2 separate regions of the Homo sapiens genome follow, and region 1 is linked to region 2. The links are contacts of gene promoters, found by promoter capture Hi-C in human tissues and cell types (Jung and others, 2019). All regions are on one chromosome and are shown on one strand. The core of a region is centred on a gene start or on the middle of the fragment in contact, and the rest is flanking DNA. Distances in the headings are between cores, read along the strand shown. Region 1 overlaps CDH12 (cadherin 12). Region 2 holds the start of CDH12 (cadherin 12).

What was found. The method cuts DNA at HindIII sites, captures the fragments that hold promoters and counts their contacts. A contact is called where the count stands out against the background at its distance.
Region 1: a contact is called between a fragment that was not itself captured here and the fragment with the promoter of CDH12 in region 2, in 3 of the 25 tissues and cell types used here (aorta, dorsolateral prefrontal cortex and stomach).

The regions. Positions count from the first base shown.
Region 1 is chr5:22,779,128-22,782,662 of GRCh38, reverse strand. The region is part of intron 1 of CDH12 (cadherin 12); the gene reads left to right. Among named protein-coding and RNA genes, the nearest start is that of CDH12, 72 kb to the left of the region's middle. The HindIII fragment of the contact is 4,411 bases long and covers 1-3,535 here.
Region 2 is chr5:22,851,834-22,855,582 of GRCh38, reverse strand. CDH12 (cadherin 12) reads left to right here and starts at 2,239. Exons shown (of 15, transcript NM_004061.5): 1 at 2,239-2,525. The HindIII fragment of the contact is 14,494 bases long and covers 1,494-3,749 here.

The DNA.
Region 1 (3,535 bases), core at 261-2,760, 72 kb after region 2:
TAGTTAACCTAGGTCATAGATAAGAATCTCAAGGATCAAAGAAACCTATTCTATTAGTCTGTTTTCACACTTCTGTAAAGATATTACCTAAGACTGGGTAGTTTATAAATAAAAGAGGTTTAATTGACTCACAGTTTTGCATGGCTGGGAAGGCCTCAGGAAACTTACAATTATGACGGAAAGCAAAAGAGAAGCAAGTACCCTCTTCACAGGGCAGCAGGAGAGAGAGAACGCTGGGGAAACTGCTACTTTTAAACCATCAGATCTCATGAGAACTCTTTCACTATCATGAGAACAGCACGGGGGAAACCACCCCCATGATCCAGTCACTTCCCACCGGGTCCTACCTTGGGCACCTGGGGATTACAATTCACGATGATATTTGGGTGGGAACACAGAGCCAAACCATATTATTCTTCACCTGTTCCCTCCCAAATCTCATGTTCTTTTCACATTTCAAAGCCAATCATGTCTTCCCAACAGTCCCCCAAGGTCTTAACTCATTGCAGCATTAACCCAAAAGTCCAAGTCCAAAGTCTCATTTGAGACAAGGTGAGTCCCTTCTGCCTATGAGCCTGTAATATCAAAAACAAGTTAGTTAATTCAACAATACAATGTGGGGTACAGACATTGGGTAATGGGGAATGTTCCCATTCCAAATGGGAGAAATTGGCCAAACAAAGGGGCCACAGTCCCCATGTAAGCTGGAAACCAAGAAAGTCAGTCATTAAATCTTAAAGTTCCAAAGTGATCTTCTTTGCATGTCTCACACCCAGGACACACTATTGAAAGAGGTGGACTCCCAAGGTCTTGAGTACCAATTTCTTTTCTAACAATTTTCTTGAAAAATTATCTTTACCATTTCCTCCAATCCCTTGTCTGCTATTCAATAGTATCCCTAGAAGCTTGGATCCCTCCCCTCACCATCCTTTCATGGGAAGTGCATTCTGGCCGAAGAAGCAGGGGAAATTAATAGATTCAGTTACTCTGGACTAAAGAGTACAGAACCTATTAGGGGGCAATTGCAGTCACTTACTTCCAAAGGAAAGCTGCCCATTACTGCTGAGAATAACAGCTAACAAAGCTTTTCAGTTCTAGGTTGGAACTAAAATGCAGGAAGATAGGTCAGTGCAAGGGGAGAAATGAGAAATAAGAGTCCTGTGGTGGGAGGAGACTTGGGGGTTGTTGGCTTAGTAACTGCAGAGCCAAAGAAATGAAATAGACAGAAAGAAGAAGAAAAGGGGCATCGGCAAAAGCCTCATCACAGTCATATAAATTATACTTATCCTGTGCCCCAGGCACTTTCCAATTTCAATTCCTGTTTTTGAAACTGAAAATGTGTATCAATTCTAGACCATGCAAAAATATTTAATCTTTGGGATGATTAATGAGATTAGATTTGACCAAGCTTCTTGCCACGGTTAGGAGCTGTAAAGCTTTGCTTAGAAAAATCAAGATTCATTTTTTTCTTGAGTGCAGCACTTTGAATAACATCGTACAAAATTGGAATGCACACTTTATATTTATAGAGGATTCAAAATATATTTAAAAATGTAACAACTCAAGGATTTGAAATAATCAGCTGACTTATCCTGATCATGCACAGTTCATTCAAATAGTCATTCTTTTCATCAGTGTGTCACATTTATAGTGAAGAGAGAGGACTTATAGGAATGGGTAAGGTTATAGGGTGTTTGCTTTTCCTCCAGTACTCCTATTGTGTCAGTAATGATTGTGTTTCAGCTGACAGTGAGCTGTTCCTATTACTGCTAAAATTACTATTTACAGACTACTAAAGCAAATATTTATACCACAAGTATTTGGAAAAGTTCTTTTATAAAAGTCATAAATAAATATTTGTCTATAGATCACACTTAAAAAAAAGAGAGAAACAGGGTCTCATTCTGTCACCTACGCCAGAGTGTAGTGGTGTGATTATAGCTGATATGGTTTGGCTGTGTTCCCACCCAACTCTCATCTTGAATTGTAGGTCCCATAATCCCCACATATCGTGAGAGGGACCTGGTGGGAGGTAATTGAATCATGGGGGCAGTTATCCCCATGCTGTTCTTGCGATAGTGAATGAGTTCTCACAAGATCTGATGGTTTTATGAGAAGCTTTCCCTCCTTTGCTCTGTACTTCTCCTTCCTGATGCCCTGTGAAGAAGGTTGCCTTTCTTCCCCTTCACCATCCACCATGATTGTAAGTTTCCTGAGGCCTTCCTAGCCATGCAGAAATATGAGTCAATTAAACTTCTTTTCTTTGTAAATTACCCAATCTCACGTATTTCTTTATAGCAGCCTGAGACTGGACTAACACAATAGCTCACTGCAGCCTTGAAATCCTGGACTCAAGCAAACCTCCCATCTCAGCCTTCTGAGTACCCAGGAATACAGGCATGTGCCACCATACCGACTAATTATTTGTTTGTTTCTTTTGGTAGCAACTGGGTCTGGTTATGTTACTCAGGCTGGTCTTGAACTCCTGGCCTCAAGTGATCCTCCTCCCTTGGCCTCCAAAAGTGCTGGGATTGCAAAAACGAGCCACTGTGCCTGGCTAGATTACACATTTTAAAAGCCAAAAGCCAGCATTAGCAAAAACCAGTTTGCTTATTTTAAAAACCAAAGCCACCAATTTGTCATAAGCAATTTTTACACTGTTATAAAGAAGATGAACTTATACATAATTTATTTAAAATGTATTAAATGTGTACTATCAACCAAATTCTGTGTGAGGAACTAGGGATATAAAGGTGAAAAATTAATTTCTCTTTCCAATTACCAGTGTATTAGTTGGTTCTCACACTGCTATAAAGAACTGCCTGAAACTGGGTACTTCATAAAGAAAAAAGGTTTAACTGACTTGCAGTTCCACATGGCTGAGGAGGCCTCAGGAAACTCACAATCATGGCTCAAGAGAAAACAGGCACATCTTACATGGGGACAGGAGTTAGAACGCATGTAAAAGAGGAACTGTAAAACACTTACAAAATCATCAGATCTCATGAGAACTCACTCACTATCACAAGACCGGCATGGGGAAACTGCCTCCATGATCCAATCACCTCTACTAGGTCCCTCCCTCGATGTGGGGATTATGGGGATTAAATTTCTAGATGAGATTTGGTTGGGGACACAGAGCCAAACTATATCAACTGGGGTTATTGTTTTAAGTTTTGTGAATGATTTACTAATGTTTTGATAAAGTTGTCTGATCCAATAGGTAGCTTAGAATTTACAAAACAATTAAATGCATTTTTTTTAGTGTATATAACTAGGTACACATGACCAAAATCTCCATTTAAGTCCTCATCAAACATAAAAAATGTCCTTTGTGAAATGTATTTGTTTATAGTGAAAATATTTTTCCCATATGTCTGAAACATATTTAAATATAAATAGTTTGAAGGCAGCCATTTCTGCATTTTCGCTTCGTGTTTCTCAACTAGTAGGCTTTGATAAACATCAAAGTGCTATTGCCGAAGGAGCAGCAACATTTAGATCCCAAGGTAGAGAAAAACTTAGTTGTACAAAC
Region 2 (3,749 bases), core at 990-3,489:
TTTGTTCTTCAATATTCTGTTTGGAAATGGCAATATTCTTTTCCATTCATGTTTCATACTAAGATGCCAAGACTGGGGAGAAGTGCATCCCTCCTACAGGGAGAGCAGCAAAAATCTGCAAAACACACACACCAATGTAATTTATTACATGATCATTTTCAATCTCTTTCAAATCTCAATGATTTCATTAATTTGATCTTCTCCACTCCACCTTCAGATGCTCTTTTTTCTTCAACTTTTGCCGTTTGTACTAATAATATTGCACATCTTACAATGCGCTAGGAGGGGTCAAAACATTTATTTTTTAAATGACAGATAGTAAACATTTTAGGATTCATATTGTAAGTCTCTGTGGCTACTACTTGACTCTGCCATTGTAATGCGAAAGCGGTCATGGACAATACATAAAGAAATCGGCACCACTGGGTTTCAATAAGTCTTTATTTACAAAAGCAGGTGGCTGGTCTTCTGTTGTAATTTGTAGACCCCTTAGCTAGAGCAATGACTGTCCAACCTGAATGTGCATTGGAAGCATCTGGAGGGATATTAAAACATAGATCGCAGTGTCCCATTCTCTTAAAGTTTCTGATTTGATAGGCTTGGGGAAGGGCTTGAGAACTTGTCTTTTCAACAAGTTCCAGGTGATGTTTTTGCTATTGGTCTGGGGACCACACATTGAGAACTCTCGACCTGTAGTACAAAGACAATGTTCTGTAGTCAATGACCTATTATTTGTGATCAAAAAAGGAATTTAAATAAATGAAAAATATACTATACAATTGAGGGAAAAGCAATGTTTATGATTCATTTTTTCATCAGCATATTCTTTTCTTCACAAAATCCAAGTGACCAAACTTAGCCAGAGACTGCCCTGAATGAAATATTTATTGGCTACATAAATGAGTTACAATAAAGTTAGCATTCACCTTGTTATAGTGACACAGCATACAGTGTGTAAATATTACATTTTTCCGTGCCTCCCTTCACGTGATAGACAGGTCACGAAATTGTTTTGTTTGTAAAGTCTCCCCAAGCCATTTCAATTTGTCACGATACACAAAGCTTGGCTACACCACCTACATCAACACATTTGTATTCAGTGAAACAAAAAGATTTCAGACAGTCCCAATAATTTTATTCTTTTTCAACACTAGCATTGAAAAGACATTGTTATTTGTGTACAGTCCTCCTGTAGGGAGACATATTTTTAAAACTGTATTGAGACTCTGTACTCTTGAGATTTTTTATAGAACAAAATTAAATGATTATCTGAAATATTGTGGCATTCTTGATGTCTGAATAATAAAATGACTTAGAGTCTTAGAAAATACACGATTCTTGGTGAATATATTTAAGCAAATGTTTATTCAATAGTTAGCACTTTAATAGTGAAACACAAAGAAAGATAATCATGGTTAAAGAATGCAAAGTTGTTTTGTGGCTTTTGGAGGAATAGGTTTTCAACAATAACACTTTTCATTGTAATATTTTATTGCCATTATAATATTCTATAAAGTTTTAGGTAATTATTAATAAATTCTCTCATATAAAGAGAAATTAACATTAATTTTTAAAATCTTACAATATTTAAACATGACAAAATTAAAACAGACCAGACTAATGTATATAGTCTTAGCAATCTTGAGTTCTTCATAGACTCTGAACCAAGTTAAATCAGCCTAGAAACAAGTAAGTGAATTAGGAGAAATTGCTTGAGCATGGTTATTGTCACCAATAAGCATCTGATTCTCGTTTAGACAATTAAACATTGAGACAGCTTCCAGGTAAACGTAATTAATTGTCTTGATTCACAAAAAAGACTCAAGCGACTTAGTGGAGGAAAGACTAATAGAACCCAAGATTTTTTCCTCCCAGGTGACAGTTCTCTGATATGCAATAGATCTCAAGCATTTAAAAAGCAAAGCTTCGGGTGCTAACCCAGGTGCTATCACTTTCTCAGCGCCTAATCTTCACCCGCTGCTAGGCTCGTTTAATGAGTCTTCTGAGAGCTAAGGAGTCCTCGGATTCATTCAAAGCATTCTACAATGAACGCTAGGGGGGAAAAAGAACAAACAAAATACATTTCAAATATAGGATTCAATTACTTTTCACTACTCAATGATGTGTCAAAGGCACGCTGTGTTTTGTTTTGAGGGCGGGGAGATGACAGGAGGGAATCCTGGGCCCCCATTGGCTCGCCGCTCGCCGCTGCAGTTGAGCTCCAGCCGCTCCGAGAGCATTATTGATCTGAAGGGTAAATGTGGAGGGAGCCACAGAGAGGGGTCCAGGCTTTTCTGAGAAGAGAGGCAGCCTCTTCCAGGAAGAAAGTGGTGTCTACTGGCTGCCCGGCCTGGAGAACCTTCTTTGAATGAAAACGGACAAAATGCAAAGCAGTGTGTTGGCACAGTGATTTGGAAAGGGGAAACAGAAGAGAAGGGTCTCACCTTCCGCGCAAGGCTGAGCTGTTGGCACCCTGCTGCGGCCGTCGGTGCTGCTGCTCCTGCAGCTGCCTTTTCTGCCATCAGGTAAGGCTTCCGTTTTTGATTGGGATTGCACCGCGTGTGTGTGATCGCTTCAGGGTGCATGCACAGAAATTCATACATGATTAATAAAGTGATGCCTAGCGTAGTGAGAAGCTGAACGAAGCTGCACACAGATCTGGCAGCTGAATTAGGAGCTTGTGCGTGGTTTTGCTTTGGGAAACTTCGGTAAGTTCTAAACAAGTCTCTGGTCCTCAGACCGTGAGAGGTTACGTGAAAAGAGGAAGGAAAGAAATGTTTTAACCTCAAATGCATCTTAGCATGGCTAAATTTTCAAATGAAAATAAGTAGGTGTGCTAGATGTCCAACTAGTTATTTTATAAATGGCTTTATAGATATCTGATTTTTACAACAAAATAATGAATGCTTTATTTTCAAAGAGCTTCCAGAGATGCCGACCCCCCTCACTCATTTCTCCACTGACGCTGAAATTTATGAACTTCATTCTTCATTTGAAAAATACCACTGTAAAACCATTTAAATGTTTTAATGGCCTGCCTCTCATGGTACAGCCATTTGAGTTTCCTACCACAAAACTAATCTGGGACAAATGAAAGAGATAGATTACCAGATCTGCTGTGGGTTATATAATATGCATTTCCAAATTATTTTAAGGTTATTGATCATTTGGTGATACATTTAACAAGGAGGAAATATGTGTGATATAGGACATAATGGCAAATCATTTTTCAAAAAAGACCTTCAGCATTTTATAAGTATTTTCTTATGTTTTTAACATCATTATTTGTTTTTTGCTACATCGGGACCACAGTGTATTTAGAACCTCTGTACTTCAGAGTACCTGATATCTCTTATACACATTTCTCTGTACTCTCTGGAGAGGGAACTGACATACTTCTGGCTGATTCTGCGACCATTTCATGATTCTCAATTTCTCATCGAGTATTTTGAAGCTCATTCACAAACTGCTCAGCTAGAAAATTACCTTACATACTGAGGGGGAAAAATTCAAATAGAGTAGATTCTGAAAATGTGTTTACAGTTTTAAATTACACTATACATGACCAAAACAGGAAAAATGCAACCATGCCAAGCAGGTATTAGTTTGCTTGATCTTCACTGTATACCTGAGCAGTTGTAAGGTTATAAAATAATATCCAGACACACAGCTGTCAAGAAATACTGAACCTCATCATTCAGTGGCAGCGCCTCATCATTAAATTATCCTAGACAATTTAAAATATCATC